2 separate regions of the Homo sapiens genome follow, and region 2 is linked to region 1. The links are contacts of gene promoters, found by promoter capture Hi-C in blood cells and fetal thymus (Javierre and others, 2016). All regions are on one chromosome and are shown on one strand. The core of a region is centred on a gene start or on the middle of the fragment in contact, and the rest is flanking DNA. Distances in the headings are between cores, read along the strand shown.

Region 1 (6,870 bases), core at 4,371-6,870:
GTTTCACTATGTTGGTCAGGCTGGTCTTGAACTCCTAACCTCGTGATCCGCCCGCTTCAGCCTCCCGAAGTGTTGGGATTACAGGCGTGAGCCACCGCGCCCAGCCAATTTTTGTATTTTTAATGGGGTTTCACCATGTTGGCCAGGCCGGTCTCGAACTCCTGACCTCAAGCCCGCCTCGGTCTCCCAAAGTGCCGGGATTGCAGGTGTGAGCCACCACGCCCGGCCTCACTAGTTCATTTTTCAAATACAAAATGAATGCCTGTTAATTTAGCAAAGGTCCTTTGCTAAATGTTGAGTTGTAAGTGAGGAAGATTCCAGACAAGACCCTTGCCCTCATGGGGTTCCAGTGTGGTGGGGGAAACTGACAGACACATACATGGCACACACTTTAACTTCAAGTAGTTACAAATGCCAGAAAGAAATGAACTGGGTAAAACAGGAGAGGACGGTCGGAGCTTCATTGTCAGGGAAGACCCCTCCAAGGAGGGGACATTTAAGCTGAGACTCAAAGGGTGAGAAGCGGTTTTACAAGGATCTGGAGTACGAACCTTTCAAGCAAAGGGAACAGGATAAACATGAGGAGGAGACTGGTGCCCAGTAGCTGAAATGACCCCTGCCCCGAACCTTCCCCGCCCCCACCCCAACCCCCCCATGTGGAGGGGAGGGGAGTGAGGAGACAGGCTGGAGAGCTGCGACTTGTCAGGGGGCAGTGGCTTGAGGCTTCTCCCTGGTGTCCTGTGAAGACAGTCCAGCCTTCCTCATCGCACGCTCCTCTGGCAGCCTGAGACATGGGGTCAGGCGGGCTTCCTGCCTGGTGTAAAGGCAGCACCCAATGAATGGCCTGCACCTCAGTAACTTAAGACAGCAATTTTTATGTTCTCAACTAACAAAGCCCTAGGCTAGTCATGGAGATGAACACAGATCTCACAGAGCAACCACAGAGCTCTTCAAGGATTCAGGTGATCCTGTCATTAATGCCTTTCTCAGAGACTTAGTGAAGCCAGTGTCTACTGGTAAAAGATAGCTGGGGATGGGGTGGGTACACAGGTCATGCATGATAAGGCCACTCAACATTTCCATCTCCCTAAGGAAAAGGAGCCTTTGGTTTCCTTCTTTCCTGTCATGCCACTTCAGCCATCTCAACCTTGTTAACTGAAGGCCACCAATGAGTCCAAATTTCAGCCAACCAATGGAGTAAACTGCTAAAAAGCCACCAACAGCCACACACGCTAACATTAAATTTGAAGTCTACTAAATGCACCTATATCATTGAATTTGATTTCTCATTTTGTGTGTGTGTGTGACAGAGTCTTGTTCTGTCACGCAGGCTGAAGTGCAGTGGCATGATCACAGTTCACTGCAGCCTTGACCTCTCAGGCTCAAGCGACCCTCCCACCTCAGCTTTCTGAGTAGCTGGGACTATAGGTGCTCACCACAACACCCCGCTAATTTTTGTATTTTATGTTTCAACTATGTTGCCCAAACTGATAACAAACTCCTGGGCTCAAGTGATGATCCTCCAGCCTCTGCCTCCTAAAGTGCTGGGACTACAGGCATGAGCTACTGCACCCGGTCTAATCTCATCTCTTTTTATATTCTGTCCACTTTGGTATGCTATCCTTAGAATCTACTCTTGCATCTATCCCCCAGGTTTCTGCTAGTTTATATCAGCAAAGTGAATTATTTTAGTGTATAAGCTATTTCCTCCTGGGTCATAACGTGTATCTTTCCCCTCTCTCTCTGTCTCTTGCACACGCTTGTGCAGCCTCTCTCTCCACACACACACATATATAGATTGTGTTGAGATTTGACCCTAGTTGTTATGAGTTTACTGGCAATGGAGCGCAATTGTGGTGGGTTTTCAGGAGAATGGACATCCCCTTTTAGGTCTTCTGCCCCTGGGAAGGTTATCCTAAGGTTTTCAAGCAGAGAAAGGCTATTCTATTCAGATACTGAGGGCAAACTACTTCTACTGGTAAAGGAGGCTCAGAGTGACCTAAGGAATCAAGACTGTCAATTTCATCTGGGTCCAAACATATATCCCCACTTTGAATTTCAGGATCACCTTCTGTTTTTTCGTTTTGTTTTGTTTTTTTGATAGAGTCTCGCTCTGTCGCCCAGTCTGGAAGTGCAGTGGCGCCATCTCGGCCCCCTGCAACCTCACCTCCCAGGTTCAAGCGATTCTCCTGCCTCAGCCTCCCGAGTAACTGGGATTACAGGACTGCACCACTGTGCCTGGCCAGGATCACCTTCTTTACCAATCAGCGCAGTAACCTTCACGTGAGATTTGTTGGGCCTGGGAATTTAGCTGTCATTATTATTCAGCGACTCTACAGTTAAGTTTTGTGTTTGATTTTCAGTGACAGTATTGTGGCTATAAGAGCTGCTTCTAAGCTATCACAGAAGTTCTCAGGTTCTCAGACCATGACTTGAACTGAGCTAAGGGACTTGGGCTTGTCATTTTCTCACTGTAAATGCTCAAGTGCACTAAAAATAATGTATCCCATACCATGGTTGTATAATCATCATTATACATCTGTGGACACCATAATGGCTGAGTGCAGCAGCTACTTGTTCCCACCAGGTACATGCTTTCATTGGCACTTCATCATCACCTGCAGGTGGCTGCTTGATTAATTGTGATATCGCTGCAAGCCGTGGATAACCAGCACCCTGTGATGGTTAATTTCATGTTAAACTATACTGGGCCAAGGCATGCCCAGACAGCTGCTTAAACATTCTTTCTGGGTGTGTCTGTGAGGGCTTCTCAAGAAGAGATTAACGTTTGAATTGGCTGAGTGAGTAAAGCAGACGGCCCTCACCACGGGTGGGCATCATCCATCCGTATGGAATTAAACAGAACAGCAAGGCAGAGGAAGGCTGAATTCTCTCTGTGCCTGAGTACTTGAGACCTGGGTACTGGGACATTGATCTCCTGGTCTTGTGCTCCTGATTCTCAGGCCTTGAGTCTTGAATTGGAATCTACACCATTGGCCTTTGGCTCTCAGGCCTTAAAATTACAAAACTGTTAGGAGGCGGAGGCAGGCGGATAGCTTGAGCCCAGGGGAGTTCGAGATCAGCCTAGGACATACAGGGAGAGGCCATCTCTATATAAAAATATATATATAGAACAAATTAGCTGGGTATGGTGGTGTCCACCTGTAGTCCCAGCTGTTCAGGAGGCTGAGATGGGAAGCTTGCTTGAGCTGGGGAAGTCAAGGCTGCAGTGAGCTGTGATTGTGCCACTGCAGTCCAGCCTGGGCAACAGAGGGAGACCCCATCTGAAAAAAAAATGCTGCACCACTGACCTTGGGTCTCCAGCTTGCAGATAGCAGATTGTGGGGCTTCTCGACTGCCATAATCATGTGAGGCAATACCTTAGTGTGTGTGTGTTTATATATATACATATACACACACATAAAAGCTCTCTCTCTCTCTCTCTATATATATATATATACACACACATACACATGTATATATAGATTCTGTTATTCTGTTTCTGGAGAACCCTAATACATATCCTATTTCTCATTGTCAAGGAGCTCAGTCTGCACTCAAGCCCAAATACCCAAATCCGTCCCCATATCCCTTCTTTGTGCATCTATCTCTTGAGACCACTCCTTGTACTAATTTTGTATCAAGCAAGGTCCAATCAGGAGAAGGGAAGCACACAGTAATTTGAACTGGGAAAATTTAATATATAGAATTAAGCTATAAAGGGCTTAGACTGGGCGCTCTGGCTAACGTCTGTAATCCCAGCACTTTGGGAGGCTGAGACAGGTGGATCACCTGAGGTCGAGAGTTTGAGACCAACCTGACCAACATGGAGAAACCCCGTCACTACTAAAAATACAAAATTAGCTGGGCGTGGTGGCACATGCCTGTAATCCCACCTACTTGTGAGGCTGAGGCAGGAGAATCACTTGAACTCAGGAGGCGGAGGTTGCAGTGAGCCACTGCACTGCCTGGGCAACAGAGCGAGACTCCGTCTCAAAAAAAAACAAAAAACAAAAAGGCATTTTCAAGAGGTTGGCTGGTAAGAAGTAAAGAGAACTCTGATTCTCTGGTCACAGCACATAGCAGCAGCCATACCTTCTGGCCTGAGTTCCAGCACTCAAGCAAGAGGTTTCCTGGTCCCTGGGCTTAGATCCAGACCTTGAAGAGGGCACAACGGCAGTTTCACTGAATGGCAGAGAAGTGGCTGTGGTACCACATGGGCAGAATTTGCTGGAAATCCATCCTCAAGGGTAGAAAAAGCTGCTCACAGGGAAGTGTCTCATGAGAAACGCGCTGCTACAGAACTACCTGAAGAGGGTGGCAGAGAAAGCTGCTAGGTGCCGCTGGTTGAGGTTCACTGAGGCGGCGGCACTGGAGACGCTTTGCAGGCTGCGGGCGCCTGCTGTCACAGGAGCTGCCCATGCTGCAGGAGCTGGGTGCTGGCGAAGCCCTGTGTGCTGCAGAAGCCAGACTCGGAAGAAGTCACCCGTCATGCCGGAGCCTAGAGAGAACACACCAGAAGCAGGAAGGGAAACTCGTCTCCTGCAATGTCTCTCCAGCGCCCTCTACTGACAAAGCTTAAGATCATGCCAGCTGGTAAAGGAAAAACTAAAGGGCCAGAACCATTTCACAGAGCAGGCAACGCAGGAGCTGGGACGTAATCAATAACTAGCACAGGTTTATATTATGATTCGTCTGTAGCGGCCTGCCAAAGGTTCCATATAACATCCCTGCGGCAGGAACTGACACTTCAGGCCCCACCGAATCAGCTAGATAACGGCCCACATTGCAGAGCAGCCAATCAAAACCGGAACATATTTAGATCATTTGGTAAACGGGACACTCAAGCAGTCCTATAGGGAGGCCTATGTGGGGAGGAACTGAGGTCTCCTGCCAAGAGCCACGTGAGTCATCCGCCTTCTAAGTGGGTCCTCCAGTGCCAGAGGACTGGGGTCCTCGTTGGTGTGGTGTCTGCAGTATCATGAGAGATCTTGAGCCAGAACTGCCTAGCTTAGCAGCTCGCATATTTCTTTTTTTTTTTTTTTTTTGAGACGGAGTCTTGCTGCTGCCCAGGCTGAAGTGCAGTGCCATGATCTCAGCTCACTATAACCTCCACCTCCCAGGTTCACTTTACTTTCTTCATTATTTATAGACTATATTTTCTTTTTTGTGAGACGGAGTATTGCTCTGTCATCCAGACTGGAGTGCAGTGGCGTGTTCTCAGCTCACTGCAACCTCCGCATCCTGGGTTCACGCCATTCTCCTGCCTCAGCCTGCCGAGTAGCTGGGACAAGGTGCCTGCCACCACGTCCGGCTTATTTTTTGTATTTTTAGTAGAGCTGGGGTTTCACCGTGTTAGCCAGGATGGTTACAGGCGTGAGCCACCGCACCTGGCCACTTTAGACTGTATTTTCTAGCGAGAAAAAACAGTGGGCCGGTCCCGATGGCTCATGCCTGTAATCTTAACACTTTAGGAGACCAAGGCGGGTAGATCACTTGAGGTCAGGAGTTTGAGACCAGCTTGGGCAACATGGCAAAACCTCGTCTCTACTAAAAATACAAAAATTAGCCGGGCATGGTGGCACACACCTGTAATCACAGCTACTTGGGAGGCTGAGGCAGCAGAATTGCCTGTAATCCCAGCACTTTGGGAGGCCAAGGCGGGTGGATCATGAGGTCAGGAGTTTCAGACCAGCCTAGCGAACATGGTGAAACCCCATCTCTACTAAAAATACAAAAAATTAGCCAGATGTGGTGGTGTGCTCCTGTAATCCCAGTTACTTGGGAGGCTGAGGCAGGAGAACTGCTTCAATGTGGGAGGTGGAGGTTGCAGTGAGCCAAGATGGCGCCACTGCACTCCAGCCTGGGCTACAGAGCAAGACTCGGTCTCAAAAAATAAATAAATAAATAAACAAATAACCGGGCGCGGTGGCTCACGCCTGTAATCCCAGCACTTTGGGAGGCTGAAGCGGGCAGATCATGAGGTCAGGAGAGCGAGGCCATCCTGGTTAACACAGTGAAATCTCTACTAAAAATATAAAAAAGAGGCCGAGGCAGGTGGATCACGAGGTCAGGAGATAGAGACCATGCTGGCTAACATGGTGAAACCCCGTCTCTACTAAAAATACAAAAAATTAGCCGGGCATGGTGGTGGGCTCCTGTAGTCCCAGCTACTCGGGAGGCTGAGGCAAGAGAATGGCATGAACTCGGGAGGCGGAGTTTGCAGTGAGCTGAGATCGCGCCACTGCACTCCAGCCTGGGCAACAGAGCAAGACTCCATTTCAAAAAAAAAAAAAAAAAAATTAGCCAGCCGTGGTGGCAGGTGCCTGTAGTCCCAGCTACTCAGGAGGCTGAGGCAGGAGAATGGCATGAACTCGGGAGGCAGAGCTTGCAGTGAACCGAGATCGCGCCACTGGACTCCAGCCTGGGCGACAGAGCAAGACTCCATCTAAAGTAAGAAAGAAAAAGAACACGTGAAAAATTATCAGAAGGAACAAGAAAGTGCAATCCGGTAGTCAATTTCAATATAATTTTATGCAAATTTGCCATATACCAGCAATGCTCAATAGAAAATACAGTTCATGTGCCACTTACCAATGTATGGCCTCTCAGCCCAAACACATCCTTTTCGTTCTGCTTTGTGATACTGAGCTGGATCACATCTAAGCTTTGGGTGAGATCCAGTGTGATACCCAGCTGGACCCTGTATACAGTTCCTTGCTAGCCAGCTTGATGTTGTTCTTCGCTAATACAGGGCGATGGATGAACACTGTCAGGTCAGAGCAGGAGGGAGGGGCTGTCTTCTCCACTGTGGCCAGCGGAGGGCAGGAGAGGTAACCAGCGGCCTTCAGTTCCACTGTCCTCACCTTG
Region 2 (6,870 bases), core at 2,652-5,151, 480 kb after region 1:
AAATCAATAACAATAACAAAGGAAAAGATTAAAAGGTCTTCAGAGAGAGAAAGAAAGAACCTGAAGATTCTCCTGGGACTTGAGCCCACACAGAGTCCTCATGCGGCCCTCTCAGCAGCCTATCCAAATTGGCTGGCCCAGTCCAACTTACCCACTTTGGAATAAATTCAAGAAAACAAGAGAAGCAGCATTATTGTGTTGTTTGTGTAACTCATGTCAATCATATAACAGAATTTCATAGGAAATTCTGAAAGAGCAGAGGACTCCAAACACAATCATGTGAAAAATTCACACGGGTTATGTTTTTCTTGACTGTTGTTTAAACCAGGAGTCAGCCGGGCGCAGTGGCTTACGCCTGTAATCCCAGCACTCTGAGAGGCTGAGGCACGAGGATTGCTTGAGTCCAGGAGTTCAAGACCAGCCTGGGCAACATAGTGAGACCTCCAGCTCTAAATTTTTTTTTAAGCTTAAAAATTAAAAAATAAAAACAAACCAAAAGTTAGCAAACTACGGTCATGTGGCTGGCTGCCTGTTTTTGTAAATAAAGTTTTACTGGCATATGGCCATGCCTGTTCATTTACATATTGTCCACGCCTGCTTTCTCACTATGACAGCAGAGTTGAGTAGTTGTGACAGAGTCTGTGTGGCCTACAAAGCCAAAATATTTACGATCTGGCCCTTTCCAGGAAGTTTTCCAGCCCCTGGTTTAAAAGAGTACAAATTACCTCTGGTTTTCTCTCTGGAAAGGTTTGGCGATGGTTCTTGCTGGTTACCCGTCTGGGTGTTTTGTGCTGTTTCCCGGAGCACAGGTGGATCTGGAGCAGAGGCAAGCACACCCCCCTCCCCATTCACAGAGTGGGCCGGTTCACTTGCTTGCCATTTGGTTACCCTTTGCTTTTTAGTCCTAGGGGCCTGGCTGCCAGACGGAGGTTTCTTCTCTGCAGGGCCTTGAAGGGTTTTGGTCTTGGTAGCAGTTTGTTTGGTCCTTTTCAATTTGCTTCTTATCTGAGTGCCGTTTGAGGCAGCCTTTTGTGTCTTCCTTTCTCCTGACACTTCCTTGATTCCATGTTTTTTCACCCTTTGGAAAAAGCTAGCGCAGAGTTCTTTAAAGTCCTCATCAGACTCATCCATCATCTGACCAGTTTTAAGGCTTTCAGGCTGGTCTTCAGAGGAGCGAGGGTCAATCCCAGGACAGGCAGACAGATGAGAAAGTGAACCCAAGTAGAAGCCTAGCTGAGCCTCATTCACACTCAGTTTCATTAGGGTTCTTCTCTACTTCTCCATTAGATACTTGGAGAGTTTGCACAATTGAACAAAAAGTACTGTTTTCCTCTCTATAATGATTGAAGTATCTTTGTTCAAATTGGGCCTGTGGTTAAACATGTTTAAAGCTTCCCTCTGTTAAAGTCCACAACTGGGCCGGGCGCGGTGGCTCACACTTGTAATCCCAGCTCTTTTGGAGGACGAGGCGGGGGGTGGATCACCTGAGGTCAGAAGTTCGAGACCAGCCTGGCCAATATGGTGAAACCTCGTTTCAACTGAAAATACAAAAAATTGGCCAGGCGTGGTAGCAGATGCCTGTAATCCCAGCTACTCGGGAGGCAGAGGCAAGAGAATCGCTTGAACCTGGGAGGCGGAGATTGCAGTGAGCCGAGATCGTGCCACTGCACTCTAACCTGGGCAACAAGAGCAAAACTCTGTCTCAAAAAATAATAATAATAAATAAATAAAGTTCACAACTGAAAGAGTGTTTTGTTGTCCAATAGATGCCTCTGAGATCGAATACATATGAACCTGGTGCTCAGATAATTCTCCAAGATCTCCATGATGATGAAACATATATGGTTCACTTAATTACACATCTGTGGAAAACCAAAAGCATGTAAGTGTAATCAGACATTGTCATTTTATGCCAGTTCTTCCAGGGAGGGACAAGGGCATGTGGGGTGAGGGAAAAGTCTTCGGAGTAACAATACTGTCAAATACTCAGTCCAGCCTGGTTAACATGGTCTAACCGTCCTATCAGACATCACAACAAAAGGACCTAGAAACCTGTCAAAGCATGTTGTTCTTCCACAGGTATTAAAATATGTGCATCTTGGGAGAGTGTTTTCTTAACTGAAATTTAGGGAGCAAACCCCATAAAAGGCAGTCACCACAGAAACAGGATGATCCCCAAATCTAGGAAAACTATCTCCTACACTGATCTAAGACCCCTGGCTGTTAAAGAGGCTCTTTCTGTAAATACTGCAACATAAGAGACAGAAAGAGACATTATATTCTCATGAACACTCAGGAGAGAAAAGGTCACTTTTACTTATCTTCTCAACCCAGCAAGGCTCTCCAAACCTGGATGACTGGAATGTCGCCTGTGTGCAAAGGCTGGGCCTCGTGAGCATGGTTGTTTACTTTGGCACACAGCTAAGTGGGGTTCAAAAATCAAAACTGAATGACCCAATGGCAGAAAGTTATTCCTTTCAAATACAATAATGCAATCTCCACTGTCCAAGGAATCTAATTAATCATTTTGTTTTCCAGAGCTGAAAATACTCCTACCTAGAATCTACTTTGTATGGCTGGCGCATTCTCTTCTGTGTCTTCCCCTTAGAGAAGTGTCCTCTAATCCTTTATGGACCGTCTCCATCCCCGTTAATCCCTATCATCGCCCACTGTTTTCACAATGGCATCTGTCATAGGTTATCATCATATGAAACAGGTAATATCTATCGAATGCTTACTGTGTGCCAAGCACTGTTCCAATTGCTTTCCAAGTCAAACTCGTTTAATCCTTACAAGAAGCCTATATGGTGGAATCTCTTGTCATCCTGTCTTTACGGCAAGGAAACACGCGCAAGCAGAATGAGGAACTGGCCTAAAGCCAGTTCAGGAACAGCTTTCACAGTGGCAGGGCTGGGATCAAACCCAGGAAGTGTGGTTCGAAACTATCCGCTCTTGTGTTTTTATTCATCGGCTTATTATCTGTCCCCCATTAAGCTCAACACTTCAGGAGGGTAGAGATCCATCTATTACTTTGCAACCTCTTTGGCTGATCTGGTGCCTGACTTGAAATAAGTGCTCCACAACTACTTGTTGAATTCATGAATTGCAAAGAGTTCGGTATAATGGGAGTAGAGAGAAAGGTGTAGGAGAAAACGCTGCGGGGAGAGGAAAGGATTGGCTCACAAGGGCCTGGAAGGTCAGGCTAGGCAAAGTGAATTTTATCCTGTTGGATGCGGGGAGCGGCTGGAACAAATTCCACCTCCACAACTGTGTTGATCTCCGCATCTCTGTTGATATGAACCTCACAACAGTCTATCTCCTCCTATAGGTGCCCAGTCAAGATTTACTGAATGACATAACGGATCCTGCAAGCCTGCAGGTTTCCAGAGGGAAGGGGACTTGTGCCTCCTTGCTTCGTACCTACCGCAGCCCACGGCTCACAGCAGGCGAGGGATGAATGAATGGATCGGTAAGGGGCGGACCCTCCCGCTTCCCCCAACCCGGCGACCTACGGAAAGGGGCTGAGGGGTTCCCCGTCTGGGAAAAGGGCTGCCAAAGACTCTAACGGCTCTAAAGTCAGACGGAGAACCCCGATCCCCGGACTGGCCCGGACGGAGACCACCGTGGGGATCCGGATCCGCCACCCTCCTCCCTCCAGGCGGGCCCCGGCCCCTCTCCACCCGAGTGCGGCTCCTGCCTCTCCGTCGGGGCTGCGGGCCTGCCGAGGCCACGGAGCCAGCGAGGGAGACGGGCGAGAAAGGCTCTTCTCCCTTAGGAAAGAGAGAACGGCCCGAAATGACAGGACCTCCGCCTCCCGGGTGCCGACTCCCAGCCCCACAGCCCGGCTCCTCCTACCTCCGGCGCCGCCGCGGCACCTTCTTAACGGAGACTCGCGCGCCTGCGCATGCGCCGCCCGCGCCCCCGCGGAGCATTGCCTGCGCGCAGGCGCAGAGCGGGCGCGCGCGGTGGTGCGGCAGCCTCGCTTCCGGTCTTCCTCTGCGGCGCCGGGCGCGGGCCCGCGGCGGCCAGCGCTTCCGGTCGGCAGGAGGCGGGGCGAGGCGGAAGCGGCGCTTGCTTCAGGTGGAGTCTGTTAGTTTTTGAGAAAGAGTTAGGGCGAGTTTAAGGCACTGTGGCAGCTGTGAGATAAAGTCTGGTTCCTCCCCAGCTGGCTCAGGAAATGTTCGCGGATACAACGGCGGCCCCCTCTGGGCATACCTGCCTGTGGAGCGGAGAGTGGACGGTGTGAGGGGGACCGGGAGAGGCACCAAATCTGGCCTGGGGGCCCGAGAAGCTTCCTCTCAGGTGGGGTGGCGTGAGAGTCGAGGCCTGGAGGTCGGGGAGGGTTAGCTACGTGAAGAGGGGATTCTGCCGCGCTTCAGGTGCCTGGAGGGGATGCCCGAGCTCTTCCGCAGGGCTAGGGTGAAGCCAGCCAGGGCCTGGGGGAAAGGTAGCAGAGGTTTGCCATGGCTTGGTATTTGAGGGACTTTACACATCGTATTAAGGGTTTGAGCTTCAACTTGGGGTCGTCGGGAGCCATTGAAGGTTTTTTGTTGTTTGTTTTTTGAGACGGGGTTTTGCTCTTGTTGCCCAGGCTGGGGTGCAGTGGCGCGATCTCGGCTCACTGCAACCTCTGTCTCCCGGGTTCGAGCGGTTCTTGTGCCTCACCTTCCCAAGTAGCTGGGATTACAGGCGCCAGTCACCACGCCCAGCTAATTTTTGTGTTTTTAGTAGAGACTAGGTTTCACTCTGTTGCCCAGGCTGGTCTCCAACTCCTGACCTCAGGTGATCCGCCCGCCTCGGCCTCCCAAAGTGGTGGGATTACAGGCGTGAGCCACCGCTCACGGCTTTTTTTTTTTTTTTTTTTAAGTAGAGACGGGCGGTGGGGGCGGGGGGGGGAGTCTCACTATGTTGCCCAGGCTGGTCTCGAGCCCTGGCCGCAAGAGATCCTCCCGCCTCGGCCTCCCAAAGCGCTGAGATTACAGGCGTGAGCCACCACGCCCGGCGTAAGATTTTGTTTTTAAAGGCCTAATTACAGTGAGAACAGATGAGGCAAGGACACCCATTAGGAGGCTATTACATAATCTAGATGAAAAGTGAGAGCGGCCCGAATTAGGAGGTGGAGCGAAAAGAATGGAGAAATATGGAGCATAGTCAAGACGCAGTTGTTAACGATTTGCCGGTTTCTGGCCTTAACATCTGAGAGTAGTGTGCCTCCAGTCACTGAAATAATGAACACAGGAGAGGTGTAAAGGAATCAGTTTGCAGGGCAGACAATATGTTTTTTAAAAGATACAGTATCATAAAATGCACACTAGAAGTGTACATTCAGTGGTTTCCAGTACGTTCACAGGATTTGCAGCCATCGTCGCTAATTCCAGAACGTTTTAAAACCCCAAATCGAACCTGCCGTACCCATTCGTAGTCACTCCGCAATTCCCCCGACCCCATCCCCTGGCAATCACTTATCGGCTTTCTGTCTCTGTGGTTTTGCGTATTCAGTACATTTTATGTAAATGGGATCATGTGATACTTGGCTTTTTCTGCTGGGCTTTTATTAAGCATGTTTTCAAGATTTCATCCATGTAGATGAATCAGTACTGCATGCCTTTTCATGGCTGCATAATCACGTGTTTGGATGGACCATGTTTTGTTTATCCATGTATCAGGTGATGGGCATATGGATGTTTTTACTTTTTGGCTGTTAGAAATAATGCTGCTATGAACATTCGTGTTCATAACACAAGTTTTTGTGTTCTAGGAGTGGAATTACTGGGTAAGACTACATTTGATTCTGAATGTTGAGCTTCAAAACCTTCCAAGAGGTTTTCCTTGATGAAGGATTTAGGAGGTGTTTACTTGCTCTCTGGCTTGGAAATCTAAGTTAGTTTGTAATATGGTTTCCAACTGGATAAAGAAGACAGAACAAGAATGATAAGCAGCCCAGAGGCAAGGGTAGGGCAGGGTGTCTTGGGACTTGAATTTATAGAGGAGACTGAGTGACGACATGGAGAGGCCAGTGCTGTTGAAATAATTTCTCTTTCCTTCCTTCCCTTCCTTGCTTCGTTTTCGACGGAGTTTGGCTCTTGTTGCCCAGGCTGGAGCGCAGTGGTGTGTGCAACCTCCACTTCCCTGGTTCAAGCGATTCTCCTGCCTCAGCCTCCGGAGTAGCTGGGATTACAGGCGCCCGCAACCGCGCCTGGCTAATTTTTTTTTTTTTTTTTTTTTTTGGACAAAATCTCGCTCTGTTGCCCAGGCTGGAATGCAGTGGTGTGATCTCGGCTCACTGCAAGCTCTGCTTCCCGGGTTCACGCCATTCTCCTGCCGCAGTCTCCCGAATACCTGGGACTACAGGCGCCCGCCACCACACCTGGCTAATTTTTTGTATTTTTAGTAGAGACGGGGTTTCACCATATTAGCCAGGATGGTCTCGATTTCCTGACCTCGTGATCTGCCCGCCTTGGCCTCCCAGAGTGCTGGGATTACAGGTGTGAGCCACCGCGCCCGGCGTAATTTTTTGTATTTCTAGTAGAGACGGGGTTTCACCATGTTGGCCAGGCTGGTCTCAAACTCCTGACATCAGGCGGGCGATCTTCCTGCCTGGACCTCCCAAAGGGCTGGGATTACTGGTGTGAGCCACCGCGCCTGGCCTGAAATAATTTACTTACATTTCTCAAGAAAAGGAGGCGTGCCACCACGTTCAGAGCCACAAGGGAGACATCAGCTTTTGGTTAGGAGGAAGAAATAGGAACAAGGAGAAAGTCTAGGCCAGAACCTTTATGGGGTTCCTCAGAAATAGCAAGTCAGGGCGGAGTAAACATTTTAGGATTGGATAATTTAAATAATTCCATCACGCTTTGCCTTTGGGTGGTC

Evidence for each region. The method cuts DNA at HindIII sites, captures the fragments that hold promoters and counts their contacts. A CHiCAGO score of 5 or more calls a contact.
Region 2: the fragment with the promoter of SLX4 here is called in contact with a fragment that was not itself captured in region 1 in 1 of 17 cell types (fetal thymus); the score reaches 5.5 in fetal thymus.

Annotation. Positions count from the first base shown.
Region 1 is chr16:3,125,153-3,132,022 of GRCh38, forward strand. ZNF213-AS1 (ZNF213 antisense RNA 1) reads right to left here. Exons shown (of 6, transcript NR_110900.1): 3 at 6,867-6,870; 4 at 4,309-4,501; 5 at 4,096-4,158; 6 at 377-814. Among named protein-coding and RNA genes, the nearest start is that of ZNF213-AS1, 6.3 kb to the right of the region's middle. RefSeq lists enhancers at 2,540-3,090, 4,228-4,447 and silencers at 4,287-4,544, 4,296-4,590. The HindIII fragment of the contact is 2,090 bases long and covers 4,576-6,665 here.
Region 2 is chr16:3,607,705-3,614,574 of GRCh38, forward strand. SLX4 (SLX4 structure-specific endonuclease subunit) reads right to left here and starts at 3,902. Exons shown (of 15, transcript NM_032444.4): 1 at 3,856-3,902; 2 at 726-1,862. The coding sequence starts at 1,260. It also overlaps a transcript of DNASE1 not described here. RefSeq lists a silencer at 3,760-4,109 and an enhancer at 4,150-4,219. The HindIII fragment of the contact is 2,900 bases long and covers 1,390-4,289 here.